Regions from separate parts of the Homo sapiens genome. Here regions 1, 3, 4 and 5 are each linked to region 2. Evidence: promoter capture Hi-C in 16 types of primary human blood cells and fetal thymus (Javierre and others, 2016). All regions are on one chromosome and are shown on one strand. Each heading gives the region's core, a stretch centred on a gene start or on the middle of the fragment in contact. The rest is flanking DNA. Distances are from core to core; before and after follow the strand shown.

The links. Contacts are between HindIII fragments. The CHiCAGO score rates a contact against its expected background, and 5 or more counts as called.
Region 1: a fragment that was not itself captured here is called in contact with the fragment with the promoter of IARS1 in region 2 in 1 of 17 cell types (naive B cells); the score reaches 5.4 in naive B cells.
Region 3: a contact is called between a fragment that was not itself captured here and the fragment with the promoter of IARS1 in region 2, in 8 of 17 cell types (erythroblasts, monocytes, endothelial precursors and 5 more). The highest score is 9.0, in erythroblasts.
Region 4: a fragment that was not itself captured here is called in contact with the fragment with the promoter of IARS1 in region 2 in 9 of 17 cell types (M1 macrophages, erythroblasts, naive CD8 T cells and 6 more); the score reaches 8.0 in M1 macrophages.
Region 5: a contact is called between a fragment that was not itself captured here and the fragment with the promoter of IARS1 in region 2, in 1 of 17 cell types (endothelial precursors). The highest score is 6.6, in endothelial precursors.

The regions. Positions count from the first base shown.
Region 1 is chr9:92,782,784-92,787,766 of GRCh38, reverse strand. No RefSeq gene overlaps it. Among named protein-coding and RNA genes, the nearest start is that of BICD2, 20 kb to the right of the region's middle. The HindIII fragment of the contact is 8,618 bases long and covers 1-4,983 here.
Region 2 is chr9:92,292,447-92,297,739 of GRCh38, reverse strand. It overlaps IARS1 (isoleucyl-tRNA synthetase 1), which reads left to right and starts at 4,043. Exons shown (of 34, transcript NM_002161.6): 1 at 4,043-4,129. MIR3651 (microRNA 3651) reads left to right here and starts at 5,193; the gene lies at 5,193-5,282. It overlaps SNORA84 (small nucleolar RNA, H/ACA box 84), which reads left to right and starts at 5,147; the gene lies at 5,147-5,279. It overlaps NOL8 (nucleolar protein 8), which reads left to right. Exons shown (of 17, transcript NM_017948.6): 17 at 1-382. RefSeq lists an enhancer at 3,612-3,661. The HindIII fragment of the contact is 5,187 bases long and covers 562-5,293 here.
Region 3 is chr9:92,643,125-92,648,708 of GRCh38, reverse strand. IPPK (inositol-pentakisphosphate 2-kinase) reads left to right here. Exons shown (of 13, transcript NM_022755.6): 6 at 561-650. Among named protein-coding and RNA genes, the nearest start is that of IPPK, 24 kb to the left of the region's middle. The HindIII fragment of the contact is 2,515 bases long and covers 2,590-5,104 here.
Region 4 is chr9:92,664,318-92,669,665 of GRCh38, reverse strand. All of the region lies in intron 1 of IPPK (inositol-pentakisphosphate 2-kinase), which reads left to right. Among named protein-coding and RNA genes, the nearest start is that of IPPK, 3.1 kb to the left of the region's middle. RefSeq lists an enhancer at 264-433. The HindIII fragment of the contact is 6,089 bases long and covers 911-5,348 here.
Region 5 is chr9:92,617,779-92,623,416 of GRCh38, reverse strand. CENPP (centromere protein P) reads right to left here. Exons shown (of 8, transcript NM_001012267.3): 8 at 2,888-5,638. IPPK (inositol-pentakisphosphate 2-kinase) reads left to right here. Exons shown (of 13, transcript NM_022755.6): 12 at 3,852-3,931. LOC100128361 (a long non-coding RNA gene) reads right to left here and starts at 5,367. Exons shown (of 1, transcript NR_036505.1): 1 at 2,884-5,367. RefSeq lists a silencer at 2,366-2,636. The HindIII fragment of the contact is 3,558 bases long and covers 550-4,107 here.

The DNA of each region.
Region 1 (4,983 bases), core at 1,571-4,070, 490 kb before region 2:
ATAAACAGAAACAGATGAAGCCTATGAAACAATTCTTTTCCGACACTGGCCCTTGGAGGGTGGTGAACAGTGTCCTGGGAGGGGAGACTTACAACTGCCCCCAGCTCATGGCCTGGAGACAGTATTCAGGGTGCGGGTCCAGGAAGAGACTCTAGGGAGAGCTGGTGGTCCGCTGGCATTGAGAACAGGGAGTTGGGAGCCTGGGGAGGCCAAGGAGAGAGAGTTCCCAGGGCAGGGTACCTAAGAGGAGAAAGCTGTGCAGATGAAGAGAAAGCTCTGAACGATTTCAGAGGGTCCCTTTTGAGTCCTCAGCTGAGTGCTAAGCAGTGTACTTAGTATGAGGGAAACCACCTGAGGCTGGGGAAAGACCCACCAGAAAGAAGCAGAGAGGCTGCGCTCAGTGGCTCACGCCAGTAATTCCAGCACTTTGGGAGGCCAAGGTGGGAGGATCACCTGAGTTCAGGAGTTCGAGACCAACCTGACCAACATCGCGAAACCCAGGCTCTGCTAAAAATACAAAAAAAGTAAGCCGGGTGTGGTGGTGGGCACATGTAATCCCAGCTACCCGGGAGGCTGAGGTGGGAAGATGGCTTGAGCCTGGGAGGTGCAGGTTGCAGTGAGCCAAGATCACAGCACTGCACTCCAGCCTGGGTGACAGAGAGAGACTCTGTCTCAAAAAAAAAAAAAAAAAAAGAAAAAGAAAAAGAAAAAAAGGAACAGAGAGAACAAACGTCAGAAATCCACAGGACAGGAATAGTTCCCGCTGCTCCCACCAGCCAGAGAAGAAAACCTCTTACTTCATCAGAGAGGGCATCAGATAGGGTACTCAGAAGTGGTGAAATTAGTCCCTGAATAAAGATTGCTCTGGTCTCACATTACATAGCTTAAGAGCATAACAGTTGGGAAGATCAAGCTGTTTACAAGTAACTTAACTGCATCCTTGAACACTGTTCAATAATATTCATAGGAATTCAAAAGGAACCAGCACCAGCAAGGCAAAATCCATGATGTTTGGCACACAAAGGAATAGGAAACTAAGACTCATAATGAGAAGAAACATCTATTAATATAAATAGACCCAGAAATGACCCAGATATTGGAATTAGCAGATAAAGACACTGAAATAATTATCATAACTGTATTCCATATGTTCAACAAAAATCAAACATGTTAGCAGGAATATAGGAAATTTTAAAAAGATCCACATCAAACTATTTGAGGTGAAAACATTATGTCTGAGCTGAAAAATACACTAGATAGGATTAACAGAAGATTAGACAATGCAGAAGAAAAGACTGGTGAATTTGAAGAAATAGTAATAGAAACTGTCTAAAATGAAACACTAAAAAGACTTAAGAAAATTAATGGAGCATCAGTGAGTCGTTAGACAAATTCAATCAGACTAATGCACATGTAGTTGGAACTCCTGCAAGAGAGAATAGAGAAAGGGAACATTATTGAAGAAACAGCCCCAAATTTTCCAAACCTGATCTAAAAAACTCTAAACCAGTGGTTCTCAACTGGGGGTTATTTTCCCCCTGAGAACATTTGGCAATGTCCAGAGTCATTTTTGGTTGTCACAACTACCCGCCTTTTGTAGGCAGAGACCAGGAATGCAACTAAATTTCCTATAGTGCACAGGACAGTCTCCCCAGGCCCCATAGGGCTGAGGTTGAGAAACCCTGCTCAACCAAGAAGCTCAATCAACCAAGAAGCTCAATCCAAGAAGCTCAATCAACTTCAAGTGCAACATAAAATAGAGGAAAACAGCACCAAACACATCATAATCAAATTGCTGCTTAAAACCAGTGATAAAGAGAAAAATCTTAAGAGCAGCCAGAGAAGGCCAGGCATGGTGGCTCATACCTGTAATCCCAGCTCTTTGGGAAGCCAAGGCAGGTGGATCACCTGAGGTCAGGAGTTCGAGACCAGCCTGGCCAACATGGCGAAACCCAGTCTCTACTAAAAATACAAAAAATTAGCCGGGTGTGGTGGCAAGTGCCTGTAATCTCAGCTACAGGCTGAGGCAGGAGAATCACTTGAACCTGGGAGATGGAGGTTGTAGTGAGCTGAGATCATACCACTGCACTCCAGCCTGGGCAACAGAACAAGACTCTGTCTCAAAAAAAAAAAAAAAAAAGGAGCAACCAGAGGAAAAAGATATAGTATTACAGAACAACAAAAATAAGAAACAGCAAATTTTTCCTCAGAAACAATGCAAGACAGAAGAGAGTGCAGCAACATCTTTGATGTACTGGGGGCTAAGGATGGGGTTATCAACCTTCAATCAACCTTCAATAAGCAACTAAAATATTATTTAAAATAAGGCAAAATGGTCTGGGCGCGGTGGCTGAGGGAGACCGCTACAGAGGGAGACCCTAAAAAGAAAAAGAAAAGGCAAAATAAAGACTTTTTCAGACATGGTGAAAGTCAAGAAATTCATCACCAGCAAACTTGTAGTATAGGAAAATTTTTTTTGTTGTTGAGACAGAGTCTCGCTCTGTCGCCCAGGCTGGAGTGCAGTGGTGCGATCTCCGCTCGCTGCAAGCTCCGCCTCCCGGGTTCACCCCATTCTCCTGCCTCAGCCTCCCGAGTAGCTGGGACTACAGGCACCTGCCACCACGCCCGGCTAATTTTTTGTATTTTTAGTAGAGACGGGGTTTCACCGTGTTACCATGTTAGCCAGGTTGGTCTTGATCTCCTGACCTCGTGATCCACCCACCTCGGCCTCCCAAAGTGCTGGGATTACAAGTGTGAGCCACTGCACCCGACCAGAAATTTTTTTAAAAAGTCCTTCAGGCAGATGAAAATGATATCATTTGAAATCTGCAAGGAGAAATAGAAAAATCCACAATAATAATCAGAGATTCCAACATCCCTCTCTCAACAATTAAAAGAATGAATAGATAGAAAAAAATCAGCAAGGACATAGAAGACTTGAATGATATTATCAATCAACTTGATCTAATTAACATTAATGAAATACCCCGCCCAACAGCAGTAGGAATGCTTTTTTTTTTTTTTTTTTTTGAGACGGAGTCTCACTCTGTCGCCCAGGTTGGAGTGCAGTGGCGCGATCTCGGCTCGCTGCAAGCTCCGCCTCCCAGGTTCCGCCATTCTGCTGCCTCAGCCTCCTGAGTAGCTGAGACTACAGGCGCCCGCCACCACGCCCGGCTAATTTTTTGTATTTTTAGTAGAGATGGGGTTTCACCGTGTTAGTCAGGATGGTCTGGATCTGACCTCGTGATCCGCCCGCCTTGGCCTTCCAAAGTGCTGGGATTACAGGCGTGAGCCACCATGCCCGGCGTTTTTTTTTTTTTTTTTGAGACGGAGTTATGCTCTTGTTGCCCAGGCTGGACTGGAGTGCAATGGCGCAATCTCGGTTTACTGCAACCTCTGCTTCCCGGGTTCAAGCGATTCTCCTGCCTCAGCCTCTCAAGTAGCTGGAACTACAAGTGTGCACCACCATGCCCGGCTAATTTTTGTACTTTTTAGTAGATACAGAGTTTCATCATGTTGGCCAGGCTGGTCTTGAACTCCTGACCTCAAATGATCTGCCAGCCTCGGCCTCCCAAAGTGCTGGGATTACAGACGTGAGCCACCGCACCAGGTCAGAATGCATTATTTTTAAGTGACCATGGAACATTTACCAAAATAGACCATATTCTGAGCCATAAAACAAGTTTTAATAAATTTAAAATAATTTAAATCATACAAAATGTATTCTCTAATCACCATGGAATTACATAAAAGTAAATTAGAAAGCCCCCTGGCATTCCATCCCAGGCTTTCTGTTATAGTTTGCGCTTGTTAAATGGTCATAGGCCGGGCACTGTGGCTCACGCCTGTAATCCCAACACTTTAAGAGGCTGAGGTAGGCGGATCACTTGAGGTTAGGAGTTCAAAACCAGCCTGACCAACATGGTGAAACCCTGTCTCTACTAAAAATAAAAAAATAAAAAAAATTAGCCAGGTGTGGTTGCATGCGCCCATAGTCCCAGCTGCTCAGGAGCTGAGGCAGGACAATTGCTTGAGCCTAGGAGGTAGAGGTCGCAGTGAGCCGGGGTCGTGCCACTGTACTCCAGCCTGGGAGTGTGAGGGACACCAGATGAGGGAGGCCTCATTCACCATGATCACTTCCTGGCCCTTCCCAAGTTTCTGTTTTCTTACACATTGTTACATTTCTTGCCTGCTATATAAACCCCTGGTTTTAGTCAGTCAGGAAGATGGATTTGAGACTGAGTGCCCATCTACTCGGCTGCAGCACCCAATTAAAGCCTTCTTCCTTGGCAATACTTGTCTCAGTGGTTGGCTTCCTGTGTGGTGAGCAACAGGACCTAGACTGAACCCTGGCGTTTCTGTAACAATAGCAATTGTCCTAAGTCATAAGTACCATTTGGTTATCAAAACATTACTGTCAGCAGAGCCCTGCCCACAATGTACCAAGATCCCTTAGGGTGGAAGACAAGGCCACATGATAGAAGAGTATGGAAAAGCTGTCCCAGTGATGACCATTAGAGACTTTCTGCACAAGACCCCTTAGACCTAGGCAGGCGTCACCAGAAGCAGAGAGGGACATAGAGCTGGAGAGGTAATATGCCCTGAGGTAGCATAGTGAAGGTGTATTTCTGGCCTTGCCAACTGAAAACAAACTGCTTCTGGTGGTCTTTGTGAGCAGCTATTGAGGGAAAAAACACACATTTGACAGATCAATAGCTGCCTACCAAGTACCAGGGGTTGTGTTAATTTGCTCAAGCAACAAAAACACGTCGGAACAACAGCTGCAATTAGAGTTAATAACCAGTTAAACTTAAGATAATCCACTGTCATTCTTCAAGCCCCATCTGTCTTCTACAGTGGCCAAAGAAGTGATTTGAATGGGGGATGATAGGGGAATCACTAACCCTGCATCTTTCAAGTCCTTAGTGGTGGCATTAATCTCTGCAATCCCTCCAGGGATACAGTACACTTTTGGCTTACTAT
Region 2 (5,293 bases), core at 2,794-5,293:
GTGAAGGAATTTTAAAAATCTGGCTGACGGAATATCATTCTGGTTGCCATCTTTTTCTGTGGAACTCCTCTGCATTTCTTCCTAAGTAATTACTTCAAAAATTAAATTCAACTTCTTATAAAGGAAGAACAAGATAGTCCTTGAAAATACTTTTTGTATATAATCTCTTTGCCCTCTATCCTGAGTAACTAATGGACATCTTCTCATGCAAGGTTTATATGAAGCCTTTTTAAATAAATGAGTCAAAGCACTTGTATTTTCCAGCCTAGGCTTTGTGTGAATTATAGGCTATTTGAAATTTTATTTCTGATTATGTCAAATACACCTTCCATTTTGTCATTTTTGTTTAAACTGATAAATTACAAGTCAACATTGAGTTTTATACTTGTGTTTTGGTGAATGGTTAACTGAAATATAGGACATTTCAGACCAACATCATATAAGAGTTCTGTGAGGACCAGGAGAGGAAGCCAAATACAGTTATCTTGTCATTGCCTCTAGGAATTAAGGAACAACATCTAGATGTACACCAATCCCAAAATTCTAGTTAGACTAAAAGCTTATGAAAAATACCAAGTGCCTGAAAGATAGGTAGTCACAATTAGGAGTCAGGACCCTGAGCCCAAATAGGGAAACAGATTTAACATTACATTAAATAAACCAACCTGCCTAGATTTCAAGACATACGTCTCCTATCAAAATGGGCTCTGTATGAAATAGTATTACATAGGCCGGGCGTGATGGCGCACACCTGTAATCTCAGTACTTTGGGAGGCCAAGGCGGGCGGATCATGAGGAGGTCAGGATTTCAAGACCAGCCTGGCCAACATGGTGAAACCCCATCTCTACTAAAAATGCAAAAATTAGCTGGGTGTGGTGGCTCACACCTGTAATCCCAGCTGCTAGGGAGGCTGATACAGGAGAATCACTTGAACCCAGGAGGCAGAGGTTGCAGTGCTGAGATCATGTTGCTGCACTCCAGCCTGGGTAACAGAGTGAGACTCCATCTTAAAAAAAAAAAAAAAAAGAAATAGTATTATATAGTTCCAAGGGACTATCATTAAGCCATGATGTGTGTACCTAAAATTAGTATTTATTGATTTACCTATGCTGAATATAAACTCTTAACTGTTGGGATTTCATCTGGTGTGTTAACCATTATGACCCTAGGGCTTATGCTCTATGTTTTTTTAGTAAGGGTCCAAGGAACTAAATAACTTGAAGAGTAATTCTGGATTCCTAGGTTTCCAAAACTTCAGACTTCAAGGAGAGTGTGGACAACTAAGCAGCAGGATAAATAATTCACACTTTCTACCTTCTCTTGATGTAGATCACATTTGTACCTTATTTTCTATTGCTGCATAGCAAATCATCTCAGTAACAATCATTTATTTTATGCACAAATACTGCAATTTGGTCAACACTCACTAGGGACTGCTGATCTGTGCTGTGTGCTTTCACTGGGGTGGTTCAGCTAGGGCTACGGGATCTGTTTCTAAGATGGCCCACTCAGTGCCTGTTCATGGGCTTCCTTACAGCATAGCAAAAAAGCTCTAGGAGCAAGTGTTCTCAGAGGCAGGAAGCAGATGCTGCCTGTCTCTTAAGGCCTGGCCCAGAAACCGGCTCAGTCACTTCACTGTATTCTACAGGTTTAAACTGACACACAGCCCAACCAGACTGAAAGGGAGGGGACACAGATCCTCACTTCTTAGTGGGAGGAGTGTCAGAATGTGTGGCCGTAATTTAAATCCGGCACATGTTTCACAAGCAGACAAATAAGTAACATCAAGTAGCCTTGCCCACCCCCCAGTTCCTGCTCCCCAGATGAAACCACCTTCAGCAATTTAATTTCTCTAGTATTTACCTCCATGTTTCTACCTAACATGCTTATGCTCTGATTTCTTGGTTTTTCACTTCCAGACACTACATATTCTGAAAAGGTGAAAAAATTATTCACCTCTTCAGTCCAAGTAATATATTTTGACTACAGTTAACTTTTTTGCTGGAATTTTTTCATTTGCTTAACTTTTTCTAGACTTAGTCTTCCCATACCTTCCAACTGTGGGACATGATGAGGTTTCTCTTCAAATAGCCTGATCAATCCTTTATTCTTTAATTCACAGTGCCCCCCTCTTCCCTTTTTCTCCTCTTTCCTTTCTGCCTTTGTTACATGCCTAGACAGGCCACAGTACCAGGCGTTATCAGTACCAGCTCGTATTCCTTATCCGAAGAGAAGACTAGCTCTCTAGCTCATTACAGACAGCCCTTCCCCCTTTCCCCTCTCTCTTACGTGCCCACCTTATCTAAAGAAAGTTAAAATGTTTAGCCAACTGTGGTTATTTTAGATTGTGAGGCCCAACTCCGGCCAATGGAGAAAGGGTACAGGGGCAGGGTTTGTGTCAGGGATAAAGGTTCTCGTGCCCCTTTGTTCTGGTGTGCTCTCATGGTGACTGGCCAAGGAGAAGCACCCCTCTGCGCAGAAGTAAAATTGCTTTGCTGAAAATCCTTTGTTTGAATGTTCAATTTCCTTAGGATTTTGAGCATTATTTCCAACACAACAGTACTATTAATATAAATGTTTCTCAATCAAATTTTTAAATAATTAGACTTGGCCTACCTCACCTTTGTCCAGGAGCCCTCTGTCTGGCTCTATCTGGGCTCTCTGGATAGGTGACAAAAATGAACTGAACAAGGTGGCAACGTGAGGAATGTGAAAACTTCAAACACATTCCAAATACTTTCAGTTAATTAACAAGATTTGCAGCTATTAAATTATGTACGTTATGTGAGTATAGTCAGAACACTGAGTTACCCATGATGGAGGACATGAAACCACTTTAATCCTTCACACAGGGCCAAGACGGTAAGTAAAGTTAAATATATGCTGAACAGACTATCAAAATGTTCCTAAACTTAATAAGAAACTGCATTCTACCTATTCTAGGCCAGATAAATTTTTTATATCCCTCTAACGGATACAATAGGCAGCTACGGAACTACTCCCAATTTGGCAAGATCCAGAATTTCCTTTAGAGGCTCTGGGGCCAAAGCCCGAGGCCTACTGCCCTTTGCAAGGCTCCAGATTTTAACCAGCAGATCAGTAAGGTACCAAGCCGACTCATAGCAATGATAATAAGTATGCAGGCCGGGTGCAGTGGCTCATGCCTGTAATCCCAACAGTTAAGGAGGCTAAGGCAAGCAGATCGCTTGAGCCCACGAGTTTGACAGCAGCCTAGGCAACATAGCAAGACCCCGTTGCTACAGAAAATACAAAAATTAGCCGGGCGTGGTGGCGCTAGCCTGTAGTCCCAGCTACTTGGCCAGGGATGAGGTGCGAGGATCATCTGATCCGGGGAGGTTGAGGCTGCAGTGAGCCATGACCGTGCCACTGCACTCCAGCCTGGGCGACAGAATGAGACCGCTTCTCAAAAAAAGAAAAAAAAATCGTTTGTGCAATGTTTTCATTACCGGAAACATTTTAAGTAAAATACAATAAAACTTTTAAATCTGGTTGTCAGACCCTTCCTTCCCTTTTGTTATTATCGTTTCACGTAGCCATTTATGATAGGAGAAGCGGCTTTGGGGTCGGCGGCTCAGGGCCCAAAAGTATAATTATTAAAGCCACCTCTCCGGAAGTTGCTGTTTGTCGTTATCAATTTAGGTACGAAGTGTCCAGTCAGATAAATACTGACAAAAGCAAACAAGATGAAGAACATGAGCCCCGACCTCGGCGCCCCTTCCCAGTGGGCCGTCACCTACCCGGAGGTGCCCACAACCCGAGTGAGACCTCGGTCTACACTACTGCAACGGATACAAGCAGCACGCACAGCGCCGCCCTCAGCGCTGGTTCGTTTTCCACGTGGAGGCGCAAAACCAGCAAGCACCACTGTCGCACCATCCGAGCCAGTGGGCGCAATCATGTCCGGCGCGACCAATCGGCGCCTGGCTTGTTGGCAGGTGTCAGGCAGCGCGCACTGATTGGCCGGTGCGGAGCCTGTCTCCTTCACTGGATCCCGCATTTTCAGCGCGTTGCATCACCTCCGTGCGCCCGGTTGCAGCGTGGACGCCGGATGAGTTGCTTTTAGGCTTGCTGGCCCGCGGGGCTGTCCAGGCACGCGAGGCCCCTCAGGTACGCCCTCTCTTCCCTGCAGGATCCGGCCCTCAAAGACGAGGGTCACGCACGCGTTACAACCCCGAAACAGTAGCACAAGATTTAATTTTTAAAAGAGCGTGTTTCTTCGGGGCTTGCCGTTCGTTCGTTTCCAGCCTCAGGAATTTATGGTCGCCTTTTTGAATGAGGTAGTGTTTGAAATGAGTAAAATCTTTTTAAAATGATATACATAGTATAAATTGATATAGCTGTGACTTTATGTATAGGCAATACGTATTTTTATATGTCTTAATTTATTACCTTCAATGGCTGCGAGATACTTATTTTATTGATGTACCGTAATTTACTTCAGTCACCATGAATATTTAGATTGTTTTCAGTTATTTGCCTGGAGAAACAATTATTCGGTGAATGTCATTGTATACACATTTTGTACATTTGCATGAGTATACCTGTGGAGTCTATGTTAATAGGATATAACTAAATTGAGGAAACGTTTGAGACGGTCCCACTTTCAGGTTACATTTGACTTAATAGATTATGAAGACCTGAGAATAAAAGGAGAAACAGAAATGGATTTAGAGGAGAATGAAAAGGGGGAACAGAAATAGGCTTATAGGTAGGATCCACATGACTTGATGATTAATTGGTTGTGTGTATCTTCTGAGTAGTGTCAGGGGTGACTCAAAAATGTCATGCCTAAGTAATGGGAAGAATATTGGAACCACTAATACAGTAGTTTAAAAGGGAAGCAATTCTGGAAGGAATTATGAAATTTTAAACAAAACATGGTTTTAGTGTGCGTTTCTAAAATATATTGAGGCAAAATAATATGAAGTAATGTGAATAATATGTAGTTAATATCAGGGAGGGTGGTCTCGAAATTGCTGAACGGGAAGTTGAGGTTAAGGTGACCTGAAGGAGTTGTGGAGCAGCGAAGAGTCAAGGGCCTGGATTATAATAAGAGGGAAGCAAAGGGGATGGCATCCCTCTGCACAACAAGGTTGTTGTGCAAGGTTAACCTGCTCTGTCCCTGCCCTGTGGTTGCTGGATGCTGTTGTGCATGGACAGCTCTCCAGTGGATTCGATGGGCCATAGCAATCCTGTGATTTATGCATGGAGGCTGCTTCTCCTCAGCAGCTGCCATAGCCCGGTCGCTGGTACATGATTCTTCCTGAATAG
Region 3 (5,584 bases), core at 2,598-5,097, 350 kb before region 2:
CCTGATCCTCCTCACTTGTGGGTGGATGTTCTGCTTCCCCAGCCACCATCTCCAGTGCCCGAGGCTCAGCACAGGCCTGCGTGTGGTGTATGCTCAGAGGCTGCAGCTTTTAGAGGGCACTGGGGCTTCCTTGACCTTCTGGGAGCCTAGCAACTATCAGATGGGCCTCTGTCGGGCCATGTGCTAGTGTCAGTGGGAACAATGGTTCCGATTCTTGGAGCTGGGAGTCCTGGGTCCATCTCTACTACTAGAGGCTTGCAGTCACATTCTTGAATGAAAGCATGAAGCTATTGTGTGTTGTGCTTGTGTTGAGCTAGTGCAGAGGCACCACTGACCCTCCCCAGTGAGAGTTCCGGCCGTGGGTCCTCTAGCGGAGATGTTTGTGTGATCTGATGCAGGAAGTGTTGTTCCCGCTGGGAGGTGCAAATGAAAACAGCTTCTGGGGCCATTTATGCCTAATTATCTTGCTGCACTCATTATCTTGTAGTCAGTGATATGTCTATTTAGAGGTATGTGATTTCTTCCTAAATATTTTTCCTCCTTATTTGTTTATTTTACAGCCAAAATGTGGGTTTATTCCTTTCTCGAGTGATGTCACGCATGAGATGAAGCATAAGGTCTGTCGATACTGCATGCACCAGCACCTCAAGGTGAGAGCCAATGCCCAGCTGTGGGCTACTCTAGCTGCACGCTGGGGATCTGGGCTGAGGCATGGACACACACAGTTTTCAGAAGAGTAAAAGAAAATATGGATATTTTTAGTTGACATTTTATTTCACAAAGTGATTCATGTTCAACTTTTTTATTTTTTAAATTTAGAGACAGGGTCTCTGTCACCCTGTCAGGCTGGAGTGCAGTGATGCAATCATACTCACTGCAGCCTCCACCTCCTGGACTCATGCAGTCCACCTGCCTTGGCCTCCCAAAGTGCTGGTGTGAGCCACTGCGCCCGGCCCGTGTTCACCAGATTCACTCTTTTAAATATATAATTCAGTTTTAGTCTCTTCACAAGGTTGTACAATCACCACTTCTATCTAGTTGCTGACATTTTTATCACTTCAAAGCAAGGTGTCTTCCTCTTTCTATGAATATGGTATATTACATGATTTTCGCATGTTGGACCAACCTTGCATTTCTGGGATAAATCCCAGTTGCTCATGGTGTATAATACTTTTATATGCTGCTGAATTCAGTTTGCTAGTTTTTTGTTGAGGGTTTTTGAATCATAAGGGATGTTGGTGTGTAGTTTTCTAGTGGTGTCTGGCTTTGGTACTAGTGTAATAACTGGCTTCATGGAATGAGTTAGGAATTATTTTCTTTTCACTCTCCAGTTTTTTGAAGGAGTTTCAGTATTGGTATTGATTCTTCTTGAAATGTTTGGTAGAATTCACTAGTGAAGGCATTTGGTCCTGGGATTTTCTTTGTTAGAAGATTTTTGATTACTGATTCAGTCTCTTGTTACCAATCTGTTGAGATTCTCTTATTTCCTGAGTGGGTTTTTTTGGTAGTTGTGTGTTACTAGGAATTTGTCCATTTTCATCTAATGTGATGGCATACAGGTCAGTAGTAGTGTCCCCTTCTTTCATATCTGACTTTAGTAATTTGGTTTCTGTCTCTTTTTCCTTGGTCTAGCCACAGGATTGTGTCATATTTGTTGATCTTTCAAAGAAACAACTTTTGGTTTTATTCAGTTTTCTGCTCCCCTCTCCCCCATTTTCTATTTCATTTGTCTTCACTTTAATCTTTACTGTTTCCTTCCCTGTGCTTGGATTGGGCTTAGTGTGTTATTCTTTTTCTAATTTTATTTTTTTATTTTTTTTGAGACGGAGTCTCGTTCTGCACCCAGGCTGGAGTGCAGTGAGTAGCTGGGACTATAGGCGCCCGCCATCATGCCTGGCTAATTTTTTGTATTTTTAGTAGAGACGGGGTTTCACCATGTTAGTCAGGATGGTTTCAATCTCCTGACCTCGTGATCCACCTGCCTCGGCCTCCCAAAGTGCTGGGATTACAGGTGTGAGCCACCGTGCCCGGCCTCTAGCTTTTTATTGTAGAAAGTTAGGTTATTCATTTAAGATCATTCTTCTAATAAATCTTTAAGTAACTGCTTTCTCTTCATCCCATACATTTTGGTATGTTGTGTTTTCATTTTATCTTAATTCATTCTCTGATTTCTCTTTTGCTTTCTTCTTTGACGAACTGATAATTAGGAGTGTTTACTTTTTACACATTTGTGAGTCAAATTTTCTTTTGTTACTGATTTCTAGTTTCATTCCACTGTATTTGGAGAACATTGTTTGCATGATTTCACTCTTAAAATGTATTGAGACTTGTTTTGTGGTTTAACATAAGGTTCTTCCTCAAGACTGTTCCATGTTTGCTTGGGCAGAATGTGTAACCTGCTGTTGCTGGGTGGATTTTCTATAGATGTGTTCGGTCTAGTTGGTTCATAGTGTTGTTCAAGCCTTCATTCTTGTTGACTTTCTGCCTCGTTGCTCTGAGTGTTAATTTAAGATAATAACCTGAACAGTCTAGTTCAGGTTAATACCAACTCCATTTCAATCATAGACAAAGTTTTGCTCCTCTAAAGCTTTGCTCCCTCCCCCAACCTTTGTGCTGTTATTGGGATACAAATTAGATGTTTCTACATGATGTTCTGGGTGATACAGATTTGTAATTATTACCTTATGCAGTTGTCTCTTAAATTATATAGAGGAACAAGAATTACAAAATGTGTTTATACCTTCTTTTATATTTGCCTATGTAGTTACCTTTACTGATACTCTTTATTTCTTCCTGTGGATTTGAGTTACTATCTAGTATCCTTTATTTCAGCCAAAAGGACTCCCTTTAGTAATTCTTGTAGGGTAGGTTTTCTAGCAATGAATTCTTTTAGTTATGGTTTATTTGGCAATGTCTTAATTTCTCCTTCATTTTCAAAGGATAGTCTTGGTAGATATAGAATTCTTGGATGGCAATCTTTCTTTTAGCACTGAGGATATGTCATGATCCTGCCTCCTCCTGGCCTCCATGGTTTCTAATGAAACCATGGAGGAATCAGCTGTTAATCTTAGGGAAGGTGCTTTGTATGGGATGAGCCACTTCTCTCTTTTTGCTTTTTAAGATTCTCTCTTGGGCTTTGTCCTGTGACAGTTTGATTATGGTGTGTCTAGGTGTAGATCTCTTGGTCTTTATCCTAAAATTCAATCATTTTCTCTTCTGCCTACTCAAGCCTGTTCTTGAGCCCCTCTAGTTACTTTTTCATTTTAGTTACTGTACTTTTCAACTAAAGAATTTCTTTCTTTCTTTTTTTTTCTTTTTAGACAGGGTCTTGCTCTGTCACCCAGAGTGGACTGCAGTGGCGTGAACATGACTCACTGCAGCCTTGACTCCCTGAACTCAAGCCATCTTCCTGCTTCAGCCCCCACCAAGTAGCTGGGACTACAGGCGCACCCCACCATGCCCAGCTAGTTTTTGAATTTTTTGTAGGACAGGGTTTTACCATGTTGCCCAGGCTGGTCTCGAACGCCTCAGCTCAGGCACTCTGCCTACCTCAGCCTCCCAAAATGCTGGGATTATAGGTGTGAGCCACCATGCCCAGCCAGAATTTCTTTTTGGTTCCTTTTTATAATTTCTACCTCTCTATTGATATTCTCTATTTGTTGAGACATTATTCTCCTTGTTCTTTTTAGTTCTTTGTCCCTAGTTTCCTTTAGCTCTAAGCATATTTAAAATAGTTGATTGAAGTCTTTGTCTGGTAAGTCCAGTGTCTGGGCTTCCTCAGGGCAGTCTAGTGATTGCTTTTTTTGTTGTATATGGGCAATACTTTCTTGTTTCTTTGCGTGTTTTGTGATGATAGGTTGAAAGTGGGCATTTGAAATAATATAATGTGGCCCCTCTGGAATTAGATTCTACTCCCTCTCCAGGATTTTTTATTGCTGCTTCTTGTAGTTGTTACTGTTTGTTTAGGGACTTTTCTGCGCTAATTTTGTGAAGTCTGTATTCTTTGTCATATGTGGCCAATAAAGTCTGCTCAGTTAGCTTAGTGGGCAGCTAGTGGGTTTCCTTCCAAGGAAACCATGAAGTTAAACAATTGCCTCTAAATGTTTTTGACAAATGCCCATGGGGAAAAGGCCTCCTGCACGGGTGAGTTCTGAGCCAGGTCAGTGAAGACAGCCTTGCAAGTGTGATCTTTCCGGGAACGCTTGCAAGTGTGATCTTTCCGGGAACCCAGAGACAGGTCAAATAAGTGATTGTCTGAGAACGAGGCTTTGGAGATGTCCTGCCCTCATCTGCGTCCTCTGTGGCTGCTGGGCAGCTGGTTTTCACTGTGATTGCGGCTGTTCATTTTCAAGGTTCTGAACCTTGGAGCTAGAGATACAGGGATGGGAATAGGGCATTTAAAGTGCCAACAAGCTCACTGATCTTGCTTAGATTTAGCTGTTTTTCTTGAATAAATGCTTCCTGGATTGTTGCAAGTCTATGGTCAATTTCCAGAGTTCAAAACTTTTTGATTCTGACATTTTTTTTTAACCAGTTTTCTGATTGCCTTTACAGAGGAGAGAATTTCTGGAGGTCATTGCTCCACTATTTCACCAACATCACCCCTTCTTTTCTTTGTGGTGTGATTACTATCTAAGCTCTTAGGGGAAAGACGGTTATGTGAGCCATGCCCCTTGGGATGCAATTTTCATGGTCACCATTCACTTTCAACATATGTGACAGATGTTTAAGAAATACATTTTACTATAAAGCACTACCTGCTCATATAACTGGTAACATATGACATGGCATGAATTGGATTACCTGCCTTCCCAGGTAACTCATATTGTCAGATATATTTGCATATCTTTCCAGACTTCTTCCTGTGCCCACAAAAATATGCATGTAATTCAGGTGGAAATGAAGTGATCTCTGTCCACATGTTCTAATGTTTACATGCCTGTACGTGCATACACACACCCTTGCAAAGCAAAAATGGGATCATGCCATATGTACTTTGTCTAATTGCTTTTTTCACTTAATCCTTGAGGATTGTTTGTGATATATTCTTTAGGGCTTTTTCAGTGCATATTTGGATATATGCATGGATATTTGCACATAAGCTTTTTTTTTTTTTTAAGCAAAATTGACATTACACTGTATCCATTGTTCTGCCAGTTGCTTTTTTCCTTGAATAAATTTTGGTGACTTTTAACTCTACCTCTTTCTGGTAGTGGCTGCATATCATTTATGCATTTCTTCATTCAATAAATTGTTTGCTATGTGCTGGTCCCACTAGTGGATGGGCTGTGATTTATTTAGTCATTTCCCTACTGATGAGTGTCTCTCTTGGTTTCAGGGTTTGCTATTAGCAGTAAGGCCGCAGTGGACATTCTTGTGTCTGTACCTTTTTGCCCTGTGCTACTTCTTCTAGGTTCCTTGTAGATTTGCTGAGCCAGGGGACATAAGCATTTTAAAGTTTGGTGGATACCAGCAAGTTGCCTTTCAAAATGTTATGCCAACTTATCTTCCCACTGGCAATATGAAATTTCTTGTTAAGGACACCTTCCCTGTTACTGGATATTATAACTTCTGAAGGTTTGTT
Region 4 (5,348 bases), core at 2,706-5,205, 370 kb before region 2:
CCGGTCTGTCGTCCCCTCAGTATTCCCGTTCCCCGTCAGAGTCAGTTCCACATCCCCCTCCCCGCCCCGTCGGTGCCGCGCTCAGCCTCACGCGGTGCCGCCTCCCGCCTGGATGCCCGCCGGACTGCCAGGCCGCAGTGGGGTGGAGGCTTGGTTGGGACGGAGGGCCCGGCCAGCACTGGAGGAAGAAGCAGAGTGCCCACAGTGCTGTTACTCTCAGCACCAAAAGAGTTCAGCCTCGTGAGACTACGGAATTGCTGTGCTGTTAATAGTAAGGGGATGTTGTCCACAGGTCCTCTTCTCAACCTTTTAGAATTTGAAGGCTTTCACCTGAATTCAACGAGGGTGAAAGTTTTAGAAACTGCAGTAAGATCTCGCAAAGGTGAATCCCAAGAGTGAAGCGTGTGGGTTTCTGTGAGGGCCCAGATCTCTCTGACCTTTTGCTGTCTGGTACAACCACGCAGGAATGTGGCCGGCTGGAACGGGGGAGGGGGGTGAGGGAGGCGAGGATAGGTGTCATGTAGGGAGGAGTTAGAGCATGGGTGTTAAAGGCACAGGAATCTCAGTGTCTACATTTGTGAAGTGGAACTAGTAGTAGAATTCACTTTGTGGGATTGTTGCAAAGACCAGTTACGCAGGAACCCATCAAGTTATGCTTAGCAAGTGATAATTGTCATCCCTTGGACAGATAAATAAAGTGAAAATCAGAGAGGTTAAGGGCATTGCCCGAGTCGAACAGCTTGTCAGGGATGATGTAGGCAGTGGAGTCCTGCCTTGCTTCTGTTGTTCCTATGCTGGGTGCATTGGTCAGCTGTAGTGTAAGCTGCAAACACCCAGGTAGCCCCTAGGTTGTGCCTTTGGATTTTGTTGCTCATTAGCACAGGGAACTAAAGAACAGAGACTACAAGCTTTGCTCAAGATCTTTAGGTGAATTAATAATGGACCAGGCTAACCTAAAGCTGTCCTTCTCTTGTGTAGTCCACTATTGGCAAAGTGAGGGATGTTTCTGCGTGAGTCCTTTTGTTGTTGGGTTACTGTGCTGATCCCCTGAATCCTTTCCCAAAACAAATACTAATCTTCCAATTCCTTGGTAAGATTAGATGTATCTCTGCATTTTAGGTAAACCTAAGACTTTTCTTTAGTGAGGGCTGATACATTAAATTTCAAAAGTAGTGGCAGATGAAGCAGCAAGTTTCAGGCTTGGAGCAAAAGGACACCCATGTTGAAAGAGCAGAGGCTTTGACGCAGTTGCCTCTGGCACTTGGATCTCTCTGCACGTTCCAGACAAGTATGTGTCCACCCCCTTCCCTGAGTAGGCATCTCCAGGGCAGCCTGGCCCTACCCTGTTGCACAGCTCTGATTGTAATGATTGTTTATTTTTATTTATTTATTTATTTAGAAACGGGGTCTCACTCTGTTGCCCAGGCTGGAGTGCAGTGGCGCGATCTCGGCTCACTGCAACCTCCGCCTCCCAGGTTCAAGCGATTTTCCTGCCTCAGCCTCCCGAGTAGCTGGGATCACAGGCATGCGCTACCGTGCCCAGCTAATTTTTGTATTTTTAGTAGAGATGAGGTTTCACCGTGTTGACCAGGCTGGTCTCCAACTCCTAACCTCAAGTGACACCCACCTCAGCCTCCCAAAGTGCTGGGATTACAGGCGTGAGCCACCACGCCAGGTTGATTGTTTATTTTTTCTTTCACCTTTTCAAATTTACCTACAGCCACCAGGCTGTTCTAGACCTATGCTATTCATTCTTTTTTTTTGAGACGGAGTCTTGCTCTGTCTCCCAGGCTGGACTGCAGTGGCGCAATCTTGGTTCACTGCAACCTCTGCCTCCTGGGTTCAAGCAATTCTCCTGCCTCAGCCTCCCAAGTAGCTGGAATTACAGGTGCCTGCCACCATGCCTGGCTAATTTTTTTGTATTTCACCACGTTAGCCAGACTGGTTTCAAACTCCTGACCTCAAATGACCCGCCCGCCTCAGCCTCCCAGAGTGCTGGGATTACAGGTGTGAGCCACTGTACTCAGCCTCATTTTTTATTTTAAATCTAAACTTGCTTTACTGTGCTCATTCCTGCTTGGTTGTTGTTTTTAGCTCATCATTTGAAATTGAAGATTATCACTGCACATAGTCTCATGAGAAAATGTTTCCCATCAAGTTAAGGTCAGATGGAGCCTGTGCCTGATGTGGTAACCTGAACCAAGCCTAGCCCACCAGCTCTGCCCTGTGGCCTGTTTGCTCAGGCTGTGGACCGAGGAGGAGAGAGAGCAATTCCCAGAAGGCAGCTTTTTAGGACCTGTTGAGTTCGAGCAGAGGGTGTGTGTCAGTGGGATAAGAGATGGGTGAGGTAGAATAGGAGGAGTCCGTGGTCTTGTGGATGCTGAGCATGCGCCCAGCCTCCTTCCAGCCGGGTGTGGGAGCAGGTGGACCCTGCTACTGTACTCCTTAGATCCACCTCATTCAGTCCAAGAGAGAGGGAGGCCTTTGCCAAGTTTTTCCAGGTAAGGAGAGGGTTGCTTTCTCTGAGAGGACATCAGCTTCTCTCAGAATTGAAAGGTCCCTAATGAGTCCTGTGCTGACCCCCATCCCCTCTACCATGAGAACATGATGCGCCTTCAGCCAGCCTGAGCTCGTCCTGCAGGAGCCGAGGGCCTAGGTAAGGAGATCTGCATGGTCATTGGCTGTCAGCACTAGAAGGAGCACAGTGATGTTCTTCCTGCAGTATGCAAACATGGGATGAGAGAGAGCCTTCTGTGCAGCGCAGGACTTGTAGGAAATGAGGCCTGGGGATGGAGGAACTAGGTGTGGGCTACAGGAGGGTGGGAGGTTGTGCCCAGGGTGGGCAGGAAGGTAAATAGCAGGCCAGCCATAGAGAGGCGTTTAAAGGTGTTCCTGACAGAAGGTGGTCAGCTTCCCCAAGGCCCTTCCACTCAGAGACGGCCCAGGATGATTCTCATTTTGCCTGTCAGTTTGCATTCTGCCTCTGTTTGGGATGGTTGTGCACCTGAACTTTCCCAGGCACAGGTAACCATGGTGTTCTCTGCCTCATGTGGTGTGGACCCTGTGGCATGCTTGAGAGGCTCTCGGCAGCCTGGCATGTTCCCTGGTGTGTGTCTGGAGCTCCAGACACTGACCCTGTGGGGGCTCCTTGATGAGGGAACTTCCCATCTGGGCACAGTTTCCTCGCTGCAGCCTGAAGGTGCAGTACTTGGGCCAGTGGCCACATCTCAGGTTAGTGAAGTCCACAGGTTGCCCCTTTATGCACTGCCGCAGGATTTCTCTCCTGTGTGACGCCTGCGCCTGCCTCCTTCGCCTTCAGCTTGTTGGTTTTGGCTCAGTGTCCTGTCCTATGAAGGTCACTTTAGGTTTGGTTTGTCATTCCATCTCCTAGGTGTCTTCAGATCTGGATCATGCACTTGTCTGGGGCACTGAGCCCCTTCCGGACCACCTCAGCCTTGGGGAGCAGGGGCAGAAGGTGGCCCACTCCTGTCATGACACTAAGCTGTCATGATGTTTTCCTTCTTACTGACAGAGGTGACAGGAAAGACTTTGCCATTTAGTTGGCTTACCAGCCAACTAAATTGATCACATGTGTGGACAAAGCTGCTCACTTCCAGTTGTTCCAGTTTCGTGACCTTTCTGAGAGTCTGAGAGCTTCAGATCATTTCTGCAAATTGTTTTGTTGCCTGGGGAGTTTTGGTGTCCCTTTGGTACCTGTTTAGTGCTTGGGATATTTGTCTGGGCATTGAAGGTGTGAAGCTCAAGCGGTCAGGTGCCCTTCTACTGTTTCTCTTCTCATCTTGTGTTTTAAGATTTCTGGTTCATAGATCATATATATATGTATTTTTTTTGCCATACAGCATGATTTTGTATATTTTAATAATTTAAATGATTATTTTGTAGTGGATGAATTAAGTCCTTTATATGAGGATGTGTTTACAGTTACGTAGAAAAAGCAGGTTACAAAAGAAGATGCATGATGTGGTTATAATTACAAAATGATTAGAAGAAAATAGATGAAAATGTTCTAAGTGGCTGTAACTGATAGTATCACGAATCACTTTTACTTTTTTTTGTTTTTTAAATATTTTCTGAATTTCCTACAATGGATATGTATGATACTCAGGAAAAAAGATTAATTTTTAAAAAGTTTATACTCTTTGATTTACTAATTTCTGTTCTAGTAGTCCGTTCTAAGGAGATAATTAGAAACGTAAATAAAGATCTTATACACAAAGATATCCATTACAGAATCACTTAGAACAGGTTAAGTGGAAAGCCATTGTGCAGTCCTGCAGGACTGTTAACTGGGCCATACTTCCTACTGTGGATGCTGAAAGCACATACGTTTATGTTCTCTGTTTTTTTCTGACTGTATAACATGTGCCCAAGCCCTTGGTCGCTCCCTTTTACAATTTTTAGCTGGACCTAGTTGAAATAGTCTTAGCTTTCTGTTACTGCTAGCATTTTGTTTAAACTAGTGATGTATTCTGCATTTGGGATTTTTAGTGGCGCTCTAGGCTGACGCAGCTGATGTGGCTTCTTTCCTGGTGATGTTCCTTCTTGTCTCATTTGAGCTCATTGGAGAGCTGTGCTTGTGGCTCGCTCTTTGTTTATTCCTTTCTTTGTATCTGCAGTTGCGTGATGAGGTCTGCTGTTTGGTGACTGCAGCCTGTGACAGTGCCTCTCGTGCACGGGGGTTTGTTGGTTTGGCCTTGGCTCACCTCCTACTTTTACACCTTCTGAGGTCACACAGCCACTTTTCTTCTGCCTGACTGAGCCTCCTTCTGCATCAGAATTCAGTCAGAGCAAAGCTCCCCAGTGACTTCCTGTGTCTTCTGAGAGCTGCGATCCAGGAGGGTGAGAAAAGCATCATTACTGTGTCTGCAGAGAGCAAGGCTGTGCCTAGGGCCCGGCCACTCCTGCCTTGTTGCCAAGCGGTTGGGAGATCTGAGGGCCCGGACTTGCTCACAGTTCCCTGTGGCCCTCACTGTGGGCCTCTAGGCAGCCCTGCTTCCCCTTTACAGGCAGTGAGGCTTTCCATGCCTATAGGGGTCAGCCCCATGCACGAGGTGTGCCTATCCCCACAGGCCTCCCCATGTTCTGAGAGTTGTGTGGGTGTGTGACCTCCCCCATGGCCCACACCTGTGCCTGCTTCAGTCCTGCAGAGGACACCATGAGGTCAGGACGGAGTTGCCGAGGCTTGAGGACATGCCCCATACAGGTTGGACAAGGGGCCAGCACTTACTGCGCCCTGACCCCAGGCTGTCTCCAGTCTGGCCTCCCTGCTCTTGCCTGCAGAGTACTGGGCTCCCATCCTCCACAGGCATCTTGGTGATGTCACTTTT
Region 5 (5,638 bases), core at 1,079-3,578, 330 kb before region 2:
TGTCGCCCAGGCTGGAGTGCAGTGGCGCGATCTTGGCTCACTGCAAGCTCCGTCTCCCGGGTTCACACCATTCTCCTGCCTCAGCCTCCCGAGTAGCTGGGATTACAGGCACCCGCCACCATGCCTGGCTAATTTTTTGTATTTTTAGTAGAGACGGGGTTTCACCATGTTAGCCAGGATGGTCTCGATCTCCTGACCTTGTGATCCGCTTGCCTCGGCCTCCCAAAGTGCTGCGATTACAGGTGTGAGTCATTGTGCCTGGCCCGTCTTTTGATTCTTAATGGAGTCCTTATAAGAACGGTTCATAATGTTAAGGTAGCCTAATTTACCAGTCTTTTTCCCTTTTAAGAAGTCTTTCTTTGCCTTAAGGTCCTGAAGATATTTTCCTGCCATATCTTTAGAAAATTTATTGTTTTGTCTTTCACATTTTGTTGGGTGACTGTCTGAAACTGATTTTTGAAATGGCAGGAGGTGGGGTTTTATTTTCTTTTCAAATGGAATTATCCTGTCGTCACAGAAATTGTGAACACTACAGAGTCATAACAAGCTTTGATATCTGACAAATCCTTCTGTCTTCTTCAAGCATATCTTGGCTGTTCTCGACCTTTTGCATATCTACATGAATTTGAGAATCACCTCACTCAGTTCTGCAGGAAAAGCACAAACAAAACTGCTATCCCACAAAAATTAAAAACTAAAAAAAAAGCCACTGGGATTTTCATGGTGTAGCGTTAAAATGATGAGTGTTGAAATCTATACAATACTGAGTCTTCCAACATGGACATTTAAACTTTTATATATATATATATTATTCTGATAAAAATGTTTTATGGTTCTCTTCAGAGAGGTCTTATATTAATTTCACGATATTTGATGGTTTTAGATGTAAATGGCATCTTTAAAAAGATCTTACTTTAAAAGTGTTTGATTATGCAGTAATGTGATTGGTTTTTCTATTTTGACTTTGCATACATCAACTTTGCTCACTTGTATTAATCCTAACGATTATAGTTTCTTTTGGATTTTCTTTATATGTAATCGTAGTCTGTGAATTTGATGTTTTCCCTTTCCTTCCCAATCCTTATACCTTTCACTTCTTTATTTTACTTCACTTTATGTAGTTAATTTGTGATAGTATGAATTTTAGTCCTGTTCCAAATCTCAAAAGCATTTTACCATCAAGTAAATTGTTTAATGTAGGTTTTTTTTTCCTTAAGTGGCTGACATCAGATTAAAGAAGTTTGTTCCCTTCTTTTCCTGATTTATTAAGAGGATTTTTTAAAATCAGGAGCAGATGTTGAACTTTATCAATGCCTTTTCTATTTCTATTGAGATGATCATATGACCAAAATATTTTCTGTTAACGTGGTTAATTATGCAATTTGTTGTGATGTGTTCTTTTTCTGTATGATGATAATTGGGTTTGCTAATATTTTGTTTAGGGATTTTGGCAGATGTTTATGAGTGATAAGAACTGTGCTTTCTCTTTTTGTAATGTCTGTGTTCAGCCTTGGTGTCGAGGCCTAGACCTGCCCGTAAAACACTTAAAAGATGGTCTGTTTACTCTTTCTCTGTTGCCTGGAAGAGGTGGATTAACAACGGCTGGGTTCAGTGGCTCACACCTGTAATCCCAACACTTTGGGAGGCCAAGGTGGGAGGATCACTTGAGCTCAGGAGTTCAAGACCAGCCTGGGCAACATAGCGAGACCTCGTCTCTAATAAAAGTAATTAAAAATCAGCCGAGTATGGTGGTGCATACCTGTAGTCTTACCTGCCTGAGAGACTGAGATGGAAGGATTACTTGAGCCCTGCAGGTCGAGGCTGTAAGTGAGCTGTGATGGTACCACTGTGCTCCAGCCTGGGCAACAGAACGAGACCCTGTCTCAAAAAAAAAAAAAAAAAAAAAAAAGGAATGGTATTATTTCTGACTTAAATGCTTTGTAGAATCAGCTGTGAAATCAGCTAGGCCCCATAGTTGTCTTTGTAGGAAAGTTTCAAATTTTAGTAAGTTGTATTTTTCTAGAAATTTTTTGTTTTATCTATGTTTTCAGAATTTTGGCATATGATGTTGTTGGGTAATGTTCTTTTATTATCTTTTCATGTTTATAGGATTTGAAGTATGCTCTTTTATTCCAGATGTCTGATATTTGATTTCTCTCCCTCTCTGCTACTGTCTGAATGTTTTACCCTCCCACCCCCCCAAATTTATATGTTGAAATCCCAACTCCCAAGGTGATGGTGTTAGGAGGTGGGGCCTCTGGGAGGTGATTAGGTCATGAGGGTAGAGCCCTCATGATTTGAATTCAGGCCCTTATACAAGAAACCCCAGAGCGCAAGCCAGCCCCTTTCACCATGTGAAGTGACAGTGAAAAGAGGGCTGTGGATAAGGAAGTCGGCTCTCGCCAGATAGCAGATCTGCTGGCGCCCTGGTCTTGGACATCCCAGCCTCTAGAACTGTGAGAAACAAGTTTCTGTTGTTTATAAGCTACCAGTTTTGGGCATTTCGTGATAGCAGCCTGAAGGGGCTAGGACACTCCCTTAATCATTCCCACCAAGAGTTTAGTTTCCTAAGAATCAACTTTTGATCCATTTGTACTCTAGCTAACTGAATAGAGTGTAAGGATAGGAGCTGCTCATTTCCATCTGCTGTGAAAGGTTTTCTCAGGCCCCAAGAATAGTGTGTGGGCCTGAGCTAAATCCGTGCTTTGAGGTTCTCCCCACTCCCTCCCATCCAGTCCTGCCCTTTGGAAAGTGCAGCTTGGATGTTTTCGAACGCCAGATCCTCCAGGTTATATGCAATTGAGGGGAGTGGTTAAAAGGGAGACAGGAGATGATGGTCTGTCATCAGTACAAATATTGAGGCCAGTGATGTGTGAGGCCCAATTCCTTTTCTTTTACAACTGTTTATTTTTGTGAAAGCGAGAGCTATGCCATCTAAAACAATGCAAACCATATATGAAAGTCCAAAGAAGGAAGAGGAGAGAGTGCCTCACATTCTGCTCTGTAGAGGAGACAGTTGTGAGCATTGTGGTGCCTGTCCTTCACCTTTCTCCCTGCCCGCGTCACACACATGTGCACATGTACAGCTTTACGTATGTCGACTCTGACAGTGTGGTGTGTGTTGAGCTGTCCCTGGTCAGTATGGACAGACCCACATAGCTTGGAGCATGTGTTGAAGAGTGTAAATGTCAGAGCCAGCGTACCGGGTTTGAGTCCCTGCCTTGCCATTGACAAGCAGGGCATGACAGACAAGTGATGTCTGTGTCTGTTGCTTGTCTGTAAAGTGGGACGCCGGCCGTGCTGCCCTGTTGGGCTGCTGTGAGGGTGGAGCAAGTTAACACATGCACAGCCTGTAGAAGGGTGGCCGTCTGCCGTTGTCTCTGGTGGCTGTATGATGTTCCGGAGGGAATGTCGTTCTAAGCGATGCCTTGCTGAACACCCCCTGCGCTCTCCTTGCAGGTGTCGAGTGATACTCACTTGATACTCTGAGTGTGGCCAACATGCGGGGCTCAGGTGGCTTACTGCTTTTCCTTCCAAAGGCCGACTGTGGTGACCTTGCTGAAGACAGATCATCCGTCTCAGGGTCTGGAGTCGGGGTCCCACACTGCTTGCCGTGAGAGGTCAGGGGGCGGTGCTGGCCTCTGAGCAGCCCCGTGGCACTGAGGGCTGGCCCAGGTGCTCTCACAGGGCGACCTCCTGACGCCCGTGCTCACCGTGGCCCTCGCTCCTAATCCCACCCTCAGGTTCTGAGGCAGGAAGCAGTTCCCACACTTGGCTACTGGGAAGGAAGGTTGTGTGGGGGGGCAGAGGCTTCCTGTGTGACCTGGAGCTGATCTTTCCCGCCCCTGCAGGTGCAGCAGTACCGCGTCGCCATGACTGCCAAGGACTGCTCCATCATGATTGCACTGTCTCCCTGTCTGCAGGATGCCAGGTGAGGCCCCCACTGCAAGGCATGCAGCCTGGGTCTAACGGGGTTTTATGGACAGTTGGTGAATTGTTAATAGGATAGTTGGTTTCCCCATATTTAGAGACTCCATGGCGGAGTGACATAACTTCCTTGGCCTATGTGACATCATGGGGCTTACTAACTCTCGCCCTCTAGAAGCTTGTAATTCAGTCAAAAGACAGATTTATGGAGAATAACTTAAAAGGATTGTTAGTACATTGAAAGTTACTGTTTTCTAAGAAAATACTCCCAAGAGCTCAGAAACAATGTGGACAGTGAGCTGCCCATTGCATTCCCTCAAAGAAAGCCAGCCCCTGAGATGTGTGGGTACCTGTGGCCCTTGTTCCTCGGTCTCCCACAGTGGCAGCATGGCGCACCTGCCTTTTTACCACCACAGTCATTTGAAAGCCTGTGAGGCGCGCATTCATTCTGCTTCCTCTTCTGAATAACCAGCCTATGTGCCGCCCCTCTCCCTAATGTCACTAGTTTTGTCCAGTCCCCTCTGTTTCTGGGAATTCGGGATGAAACTGATAATCTCATAGTCGTTAGACAGCATCTCCATCACCGATCTTCAGGGGTGCTAAACCCTGCACCCAGTATTTGCGGAATGTTCCACATTCTTCTAACATGTGTTCCTGGGTCAAGATGACCTTGGTTGCTGGCTGCCAGCCACTCACTTTCCCGGTGCTTTTGAACTAAACAGTTCCCAGGATTCCTGTTCCCTGGCAGGCACAGAATTGTTTACTTTCCAATATGAAATACTGAGGAACATTATAGGGCTAACTGAAGTAGAAAAAAGGTTGTTCTATTTAGTTGAAAACTCCTGTTATCCCCTAAGGAAATACCTACAGGGCTAAGTTATGAGGAATTCCTTAACTGGATTAAGCTGGTGGTGTTCGATGAGAGAAAACCCACGAAGATACCACTGTTCAGCAGCCCCCCGACCAAGGATGCAGCTGGGCAATGGAAATGTGCTTGGATGCAGGGTGCCCTTAGGTGGGCTGTGAAAGGCCGCTGAAGGACAGACATGTTACTCACCTCGTCTAGCACCTGGGAATCTCTTAGTGCCTGGTCAGTGATGTCAAATTGGAAAGCCAGCATGCGGGGAAAGCTGAAGGCCCGGGTCCTTACGACCAGCTGCTCAGCAGAAACGACACTAGGAGGGGAGGGGAGGGCATGTCCTGAAGGCACTGAGCCATGTGGCTTCTCAGACCTAGGGTGTAGGCACTGGAACCATCCTGCACAAAGCACTCTAGCCAGGCCTTTCTCAACAAAAGGAGAGGATCTCAGAGAAGGCTTCTCCTCCGAGAACATGGCGTGTGGGGCTGGGCCTGCTTCCAGGAAGGTGTGCGCAGTGGCCGCACCTGTGAAGTTCCAGTAACTGTGGTGCTCTAGAGGCCTAGGGACAAACTAAGGCTGGGATTTATCATGAGTCATCTTGGCGTCTTGAGATACCTGGTAGACCTGAGACTAAATTTAGATCCCTAGACTAATTTGCAGCTCACAGATAGATTGACCACATTTAAACTTCTTACACCCCCTAAAATAAAGGCTTCTCCAGCTCTGCACTACTGTTTCTGCCCTGTCATAAAGGAAAATGTCTCAAGTTGGATCTGCCTTCCTGTCGCTGCAGAGCTTTGTCCCTTTGGGAATTTGGAACTGTGGAGAGAGCTGCCACAGCTTCCCGGCCTA